Linked DNA regions of Homo sapiens: regions 1 and 3 are each linked to region 2. Evidence: promoter capture Hi-C in 16 types of primary human blood cells and fetal thymus (Javierre and others, 2016). All regions are on one chromosome and are shown on one strand. Each heading gives the region's core, a stretch centred on a gene start or on the middle of the fragment in contact. The rest is flanking DNA. Distances are from core to core; before and after follow the strand shown. Region 1 holds the start of LOC124903915 (a long non-coding RNA gene). Region 2 holds the start of VAMP2 (vesicle associated membrane protein 2). Region 3 has its middle 12 kb from the start of ODF4.

Evidence for each region. The method cuts DNA at HindIII sites, captures the fragments that hold promoters and counts their contacts. A CHiCAGO score of 5 or more calls a contact.
Region 1: a fragment that was not itself captured here is called in contact with the fragment with the promoter of VAMP2 in region 2 in 4 of 17 cell types (non-activated CD4 T cells, total CD8 T cells, total CD4 T cells and 1 more); the score reaches 7.3 in non-activated CD4 T cells.
Region 3: a fragment that was not itself captured here is called in contact with the fragment with the promoter of VAMP2 in region 2 in 1 of 17 cell types (megakaryocytes); the score reaches 5.1 in megakaryocytes.

The regions. Positions count from the first base shown.
Region 1 is chr17:8,303,055-8,305,754 of GRCh38, reverse strand. LOC124903915 (a long non-coding RNA gene) reads left to right here and starts at 905. Exons shown (of 2, transcript XR_007065606.1): 1 at 905-1,064. LOC124903914 (a long non-coding RNA gene) reads right to left here and starts at 1,754. Exons shown (of 2, transcript XR_007065605.1): 1 at 1,306-1,754; 2 at 690-916. RefSeq lists a cis regulatory region at 852-1,240. The HindIII fragment of the contact is 475 bases long and covers 1,181-1,655 here.
Region 2 is chr17:8,161,504-8,164,203 of GRCh38, reverse strand. VAMP2 (vesicle associated membrane protein 2) reads left to right here and starts at 1,256. Exons shown (of 5, transcript NM_014232.3): 1 at 1,256-1,326; 2 at 1,835-1,955; 3 at 2,438-2,596; 4 at 2,680-2,700. The coding sequence starts at 1,325. RefSeq lists silencers at 889-948, 1,079-1,178, 1,339-1,528, 1,819-1,928 and an enhancer at 2,039-2,088. The HindIII fragment of the contact is 9,788 bases long and covers 1-2,700 here.
Region 3 is chr17:8,325,983-8,328,883 of GRCh38, reverse strand. No RefSeq gene overlaps it. Among named protein-coding and RNA genes, the nearest start is that of ODF4, 12 kb to the left of the region's middle. The HindIII fragment of the contact is 1,610 bases long and covers 491-2,100 here.

The DNA of each region.
Region 1 (2,700 bases), core at 169-2,668, 140 kb before region 2:
AGGCTGGTCTCGAACTTCTGACCTCAGATGATCCGCCCACCTCAGCCTCCCAAAGTGCTGGGATTACAGGCGTGAGCCACCGCGCCTGGCCTGTATTTCTTAAATGTATTTGAATGTATTTGATTGAGGCCAGGCGCGGTGGCTCAAGCTTGTAATCCCAACTCTTTGGGAGGCCGAGGCGGGCCGATCAGCTGAGGCCAGGAGTTCGAGACCAGCCTGGCCAACATGGTGAAACCCCATCTCTACTAAAAATACAAAAATAAGCCAGGCGTGGTGGCGAGCGCCTGTAATCCCAGCTATTGTACTTGGGAGGCTGAGGCAGGAGAATCGTTTGAACCTGGGAGGCAGACGTTGCAGTGAGCCGAGATTGTGCCACTGCACTCCAGCCTGGGTGACAGAGTGAGACTTGGTCTCAAAAAAAAAAAAGTATTTGATAGAAGTCTCATGTCTCCCTAAAATGTATAAAAGCAAGCTGCACCCCAACTACATTGGGCACATGTTCTCAGGATCTCCTGAGGGCTGAGTCACAGGCCATGGTCACTCATATTTGGCTCAGAATAAATCTCTTCAAATATTTTACAGAGTTTGACTCTTTTTGTCAATATCACCATCTATTTTATTTGTGTCTTATCTCATTACAAAAAGAAACTGAGCTCCGAAAATCATATTATGCAGTAAACATGAGACTATTTGTGCATGCACACGTTATTTATTATAAAATACTTTTGCAAAGACACTGAAGGTTTTTGACGTAATAATTCATTCTTCTACCACCCTTACAGAGCAAAAGTTTTCTATTTTTTCATATTCCAAATGTGCCATCATAGTTTCAAGTCTGTCTTCTGCCTTGTTCTCTTAGCATTGCTTTATAACCAATTTTCATGTCGCTACGTGGTCTTTGCAGCTATAACGTTTCCTGGAATATAATGTTGCATCAAATAGATTTCATCTTCCTGGTAACAGCAGTGTCCATCTCCTACGAAACTCTCCATCACCCACCCGACTCCATGTGGTTCCAGTGGGACAGCCAATCACAACAGCCTCCCTCTGGCCACGTGACTCAGGTTTGTTCAATCACAGTGCCGTATTCCTCTGGCCACAGAGACTGGTCCAGGAATGAGCAGGTCAGGACAGACTCCAGGAGAAAGAGAAGCTTCTGGGCCTCTGAGAAAGAGAAGCTTTCTCTTTCCTCCAAGCTCACAAGGCAGGAACAATCTAAGTCAGGAGCTGTCTATACCTTGGCCTACTTCCTTCCCCTGGAAAAGGAGGAAGCCAGTCAACAGTGGGAGAAAATGAGCCCCATACCTGAGGGAAGCAGAGCCAAGAGAGGGAGGAAGCCTGGCGGTGGCGCATGCCTGTAGTCTCAACTACTCCAGAGGCTGAGGCAGGAGGATCACTTGAGCCCAGGAGTTCGAGGCTGCAGTGAACCAAGACCACGCCCCTGCACTCCAGCCTGGGTGACAGAGCAAAAAAAAAAGCTGGGGATTACAATGATATTTGAGTCCCTTGGACCTCCCAGCTTCCAGAGGCATGACATTCCCTTTTGCGCTTGAGCTGGTTTTAGCTGGTTTTCTGTCACTTACTGCTGAAAGAACCTTGACCATTACAATTTATCCCCTAGTGCAGAACTGGGAGACAGTCCTCCTAGGGAAGCTTACACTCTTTACCATTACAAATAATTAGTGCAGCCGGGCGTGGTGGCTCACACCTGTAATCCCAGCACTTTGGGAGGCTGAGGCAGGCAGATCACTTAAGGTCAGGAGTTCATGACCAGCCTGGACAACAAGATGAAACCCCGTCTCTACTAAAAATACAAAAATTAGCCAGGCATGTTGGCACAAGCCTGTAATACCAGCTACTCAGGAGGCTGAGGCCAGAGAATGGCTTGAACCCAGGAGGCGGAGGTTGCAGTGAGCCAAGATCACACGATTGTACTCCAGCCTGGGCGACGGAGCGAGAATCCGTCTCAAAAAAAAAAAAAAAAAAAAGACTTCAATTTGAAGTCTTTTTGAAGTATTATTATTATTATTATTATTTGAGACAGAGTCTTGCTCTGTTGCCCAGGCTGGAGTGTAGTGGTGCAATCTCGGCTCACTGCAACCTCCGCCTCCTGGGCTCAAGCCATTCTCCTGCCTCAGCCTCCCGAGTAGCTGGGACTACAGGCGCCCGCCACCACGCCTGGCTAACTTTTTGTAGAGACGGGATTTCACCATATTGGCCAGGCTGGTCTTGAACTCCTAATCTTGTGATCCTCCCGCCTCAGGCTCCCAAAGTGCTGGGATTACAGGCGTGAGCCACCACGCCCGGCCTGAAATATTATTAATGAAGTAACCCTAGGAGCTTCAATGTGACTGGTTTAGACTTTGCTTGGAGAGTCTGTTCTGGAAGGATGAAGGAGCCCATAAGCGTCTGCTCCATCTCTTTGTGTCCACACCCAGCAGCCTCCTTCGGTCTTCCTCATGTCATTGACCTGTTGGTTGGAAAAAGTGGGTGTCAGGGAGAAGAGGCACTTTGACTGTTCATTTAAAATCAGGCAGAGGGGTTTAGCCAAGCCAAGAGGCAGGGCATGAAGGAGCATTGTGGGAATCCAGGGAAGCGCAGGCACAGCGAAGAGGAAAGTAGGCACGTCTGGAGAACCGTGAAAGGGAAACAAACTGATCTGAAATGAAAAGAGGGACACATGGAGGCCATATCGTGAGC
Region 2 (2,700 bases), core at 7-2,506:
GGTCCCATCTTCTCTGACAAGCTGGGTGGGAGTGTATACAGCTGCTGGGTGTGCTTAGAGGGCCTAATGGAGACCAGCCAGGGATAATCTCCTATGTTATCCACATCAAGCCATTTAACAAATATGGATTTAGTACCTACATATGCAATGTATTTGGGGTCCAGAGAGAGGAGGGCAACGGTCCAAGGTCACACCTGCGAGGCGAATACGCATGTAAAGCAGCACCTTGTAACCTGTGCCCACTGTGCCTACTACTAAAGAAAAAAAAATGAGAGAAAAAGAAAAAAGGCTTTTTTTTTTTTTTTGGCCCAGGCCCTGTGCCTGGGACCAAAGCCTGAGCCCTTTCCTGCAGTCGGGTCGCTGACCTAAGCCTGGGGCAAAGCTAGGTCTTGGCCAGTCAGCAGCCACCACGTGAAGCAGCCCCTGCCCCCATCACCCCCGGCAGCCTTGTGCCCTCCTCCTCGGGGTCCTCAGCTCACCCCACCTCAGTCGGGCCTGCTCCAGCGGTTAAGTACCCCTAGTCTGAACCTTAATCGTGAGGCGGGGCAGCCCCCTCCCCACACCCTGTAGACACTCCCCCGTCCTCCGCCCCCTGGACTTGTTTGGGCGGGAAGAGCCTGCCTCATCTTTTCTTCCTACCCTCCTACCCAGTGGCCAGGGACCCCAGGCTTCCTCTGAGACATCCACCAGCGGTGATGGGTTGGGACCAATCTCCCCCACTCCTCTCCACCCTAGCAGTAAGGTCCCCGCTCTCGATACTGCCCCAGCACCTGCACTGGCCCTCTCTGATTTCCCAACTCCAGCCCATTCCAAGTGCTGAAGGCGGGTCGCTAGGTGCTGGGACCTGGGCGCGGGGCAAGACCTTGGGCTGTGTGGGGTGCAGGCTGGTTTACTGGGTTCACGATTGAGGGAGTGGTCTGGGGGTTAGGTGTAGGGCCAGGCTGCGTTGTGCTCTAAGGGGCAGGCGGCAGGCGGTTTGGGGGGGCTGTGGTCAGACAGGGTGGGGTGGCGGTGGGTTTGGGGAAGCCGCAGCAGCCCGCCTTGGGGTCCCGCGAGTGCCGAGGGAGCTGCCGGGGCATGGTGGCGCGGGGCCCGTGGTCCTGCCCGGCACGACCCCCGCCCCGCAGCGCCCCGCAGCGCCCCGCCCCCGCGGCCCCGCTCGCGACGCGTCTCCCGCGGCGCCCCGCCCCCGCCCGCAGTGCCCGGATGCGGGTGACGCGCGGCCGCCATCTTTCCGTCCCGGGCAGCCAGCGCCAGTCGGAGCCAGCGCGAGCCGCCGCCGCCATCACTGCCGCTGCCAAGTCCTCCACCCGCTGCCCCCGCCATGTGAGTCGGCCGCCCGCCACCCTCACCGCGCTTCCCTGCGCCGGCCGCCGCCCTTGGCAACCGGCCGTCGGGAGTGCCCGGGGTCTCTCCTGCGTTCCCCGCGCCCCGGGGCCAGGCCCAAGCCGGTGACTGCGCGCGGGCGGCCGAGGAGCCCCGCGTCCCGGGCTGGCCGGCTCGGGCGATGGCCGCGGGAAGGAGCGGACCCAGTGTCCTCCTGCCCCTCCCCGCCCCTGTCACCGCGGCCGCCTGTCTTTTCGGGTCGACCCGGATCGCATCTGTGAGGTCGCCCTCAGTTGACAGGCGGGGAAACTGAGGCCGGGGGGGCCTCGCTCAAGGTCACGCAGCTCATCGGCGGCAGGGCTGGACCGAGACCAGGGCTTACATCGGGTGGCCTTCCTCCCGAAAAGGAGGACTGGAGGGACGAGGATGGACAGGTGGATGGGCGGAGCCCTGGCTGCGGGGCCGGGAGGCTGCAGGCCCTGGGTCTTAATCCGTCCCTGCTCCTCAGGTCTGCTACCGCTGCCACGGCCCCCCCTGCTGCCCCGGCTGGGGAGGGTGGTCCCCCTGCACCCCCTCCAAACCTCACCAGTAACAGGAGACTGCAGCAGACCCAGGCCCAGGTGGATGAGGTGAGTGTGGGGGGAGTCAAAAGCAGTAGGAGGGACCCTGGGGGTTGGCGTATAGGTGTAGGGGCCCATGTTGGTTTGGGAGTGATGACAGTTCACGCCTGTGGGTTTGCGGACAAAGATACCATGCCCCATCCCTGTCTCCCTGTCAGCACGCACTTGGAAGGGCGCTGGGGGTGTTAATCAGCTTTGCTAGCCTGGGGTGTGCCAGCCTGGGCAGGTGTGCTCTGGTGATGGACAGAGCGCCTGAGGTTCCATAGAGGGAGGGTGTTGCTATGACATCTGAGATGTCACCAGCATGCCCCTGATGTGTGCTCCTTGCATGTCCCCAGGTGTGCTAGGCATGTTCTGTGTGTCCTTGGCATGTTAACCTGGCAGTATCAGGGTGCATGTTCCATGTGTGGCACGGTGGGCACATGTTTGAGGATTGCCCTCACTGAGGTGGGCCTTGGCACACCCCCCTGCCTCGTGGGCCCTTCTCCCAGGTGGTGGACATCATGAGGGTGAACGTGGACAAGGTCCTGGAGCGAGACCAGAAGCTGTCGGAGCTGGACGACCGTGCAGATGCACTCCAGGCGGGGGCCTCCCAGTTTGAAACAAGCGCAGCCAAGCTCAAGCGCAAATACTGGTGGAAAAACCTCAAGGTAAGGGTGGGGACAGGAAGGAGGACAGGTGGGTGAATGGGGTATCATAGTTTGTCTTACTGATCCTCGCCTCTCACCCCCAGATGATGATCATCTTGGGAGTG
Region 3 (2,901 bases), core at 46-2,545, 160 kb before region 2:
GTGGCTCGTGCCTGTAATCCCAGCACTTTGTAAGGCCCAGGCGGGCAGATCGCCTGAGGTCAGGAGTTTGAGACCAGCCTGGCCAACATGGTGAAACTTCATTTCTACTAAAAATACAAAAATTAGTGGGGCATGATCGCAGGCGCCTGCAATCCCAGCTACTCAGGAGGCTGAGACAACAGAATCACTTGAACCCAGGAGGCAGAGGTTGCAGTGAGCCAAGATCATGCCATTGCACTCCAGCCTGGGTGACAGAGTGTGACTCCATCTAAAAAAAAAAAAAAAAAAAAAAAATTAGCTGGGCATGGTGGCGCATGCCTGTAGTCCCAGCTACTAGAGAGGCTGAAGTATGAGAATAGCTTGAACCTAGGAGGCAGAGGGTTGCAGTGGGCCGAGATCGTGCCACTTCCTTCCAGCCTGGGCAACAGTGCGAGATCCTGCCTCAAACAAACAAACAAACAAAAATAACTGAAAAATCAAGATAAAAGCTTCAGATGAGACTTGATCCTGGAACTCAAGTGATGATAACAAGGACCTGGCTTTCCCCTTGTCTCTCCATTTCCAGTTTTGTGGTGTTGGCTCCTTCATCAGGCTGTATCCAGTGGCCTCCCCAGCAACTCCAAGCTGCCTCTCACTGCACTAAAATGGCAGCCACTGATCCAAACCTTATATCCTCACACTGCAATGTCCAGGGGAAGAGAGAATGGCTCATTCAAGTGGCTCTTGGGTGGGTCTCGAATTAACTGTCTCTGAACTCATTGATCCAAATTGGGACACATACCCATCTCGACCCAATCACAATAACCAAGGGTTGTCGTAAATCAAGGAAGAGTAGCTGGGCGCAGTGCCTCCCCTGTAATCCCAGCACTTTGGGAGGTCGATGGGGGTAGATCATGAGGTCAAGGGTTCAAAACCAGCCTGGCCATATGGTGAAGCCCCGTCTCTACTAAAAATATAAAAAATTAGCCGAGTGTGGTGGCGCACGCCTGTAGTCCCAGCTACTCGGGAGGCTGAGGCAGGAGAATCGCTTGAACCCAGGAGGCGAAGGTTGCGGTGAGCCGAGGTCACGCCACTGCACTCTAGACTGGGTGACAGTGTGAGACTCCGTCTAAAACAAAAACAACAACAACAACTCAGGGTCACTTTCAAATCCAATTTTTAGTCAATATTTTGTATTCTTTATTGTTAAGGTTCCCCAAAAGTCTGGATTCAATCCCAACGCTTTCTCACAGAGGGCAGCTTCAGGTTTCTAACAGTGGACGGAGTGAGAGAGGCTTCGGGTCAGCGGTGGTTGTGAGGCAGTTTGGGCGCAGCCCACGGCTTCATGCCCCGCGGCGGGGGCACGTGCAGGCACCAGCTTGAAAAACTCCATCGGGCGTGGAGCTGACCCATTCGGGTCCGAAGCCAAACCTAGTCGGATCAAGCAGCTGAACGCAGGCCCCGGGACCTGGTGACTGCCGTTGCGACCTCGAGAGTGCTGCGGGTGGGTGGGAAGGAGGAGTGGCTAGCTCTGGGGACGTCGGGCAGTGTTCTGAACAGCGGGAGCCAGTGCCTCAACTTCCCCAGGATTCTTCCGCGGGAGCAGCCCACTCCCATACTCCGCCCCGCGTGGGAGGCGAGCGCTGAGAACCAGGAGACACAGCCAGGCCAGGAGACCCCAGAGTCCAGCCAGAAGACGTGCTGAGACCCCGCTGCAGGAAGCCCTATGGCCGCGCTGCGCTCACTCACTGAGTCCGGGTCTCCGGCAGAGAGACAGGGGCAGCCCCGCGGGAGGGGCGGGCGCGGGGCCAGAGCGGGGCCTGGCCACGTCCGGGAGGATGAACGGAGCCCCGCTAAGGTCGGGAGGACTTCGAGGAGCTCCAGCGCTCTGTTCCCCTTGGTGTCGCCCGAGGCTGATGGAGGGTGGTGAGACCGTGGCTTGGAGACGACGTGCTGGGGAGCAAGGTCGGGAGCCCGCCAGGCTCGCGGTGGAGCTGTCGCTGGAGAGGCACTGCTGCACCGGGACGGTGGGCTGGTGGGCTGGCCACCCTGGAGAACCTGAGCCTGCAGTTACCTCTGTAGCTGAACCTGCGAGTATGGAGGGTTTAGGAAAGAGAAGCTTTCCGAGATGGCTGGAGAGCCAGCCAGGCTGAAGGGCTCCGGAAAGGATCACAGGAAGTGGGCTGGAGGGTTCCTTGCGGGTGGAAGGAGGAGGAGAGAGCTAGTGAGCAGGCTTGGGGGCCGGGGCGTGGGGGGAAGAGGGCGAGGCTCCTCTCTTTCCTCTGTTGCTTGTGGGCATGATTGCAACCCCCACCCCCGTTTATCTGCGATGTTGGCCACTAAGATCTTGACCCGGAGCCCACAGAAGGCCAGCTCAAAGAGAGGCCCGTGCCCTTTACTATCTGCCTTATCTTGTAGGAAAAGAAAAACTTTTTATCTGAGGGGGGCAAGGCTTTTAAAATTATCAGGCCCATAGAGAGGATCGCTTGAGCCCAGGAGTTCCAGACCAGCCTGGGCAACATGGCAAAACGCCGTCTCTACAAAAAATACAGAAATTAGTCGGGTGTGTTGGCTCCTGCCTGTGGTCCCAGCTACTCAGGAAGCTGAGGCAGGAGGATCGCTTGAGCCCAGGAGCTCGAGGCTGCAGTGAGCCAAGATCGTGCCACTGCACTCCCGCCTGGGTGACAAAGCCAAATCTTGTGACAAAAAAAAAAAAAAAAATCAGGGCCAGAGAGGAATTAAAATGAGACAACAGTGACATCCCATTACCCCCTTTGAGCTAGGTATTCACCTCTTTAACTGCTTGCATTGGCTTGCTCTTGCCATAAGTAGCTATGAATTAACCTGGTAATGCCACACTGGACACTATAACCCACCCCCTATAGCTTAACAGTATATAGCCAATCACTAATCAAAGAGCTT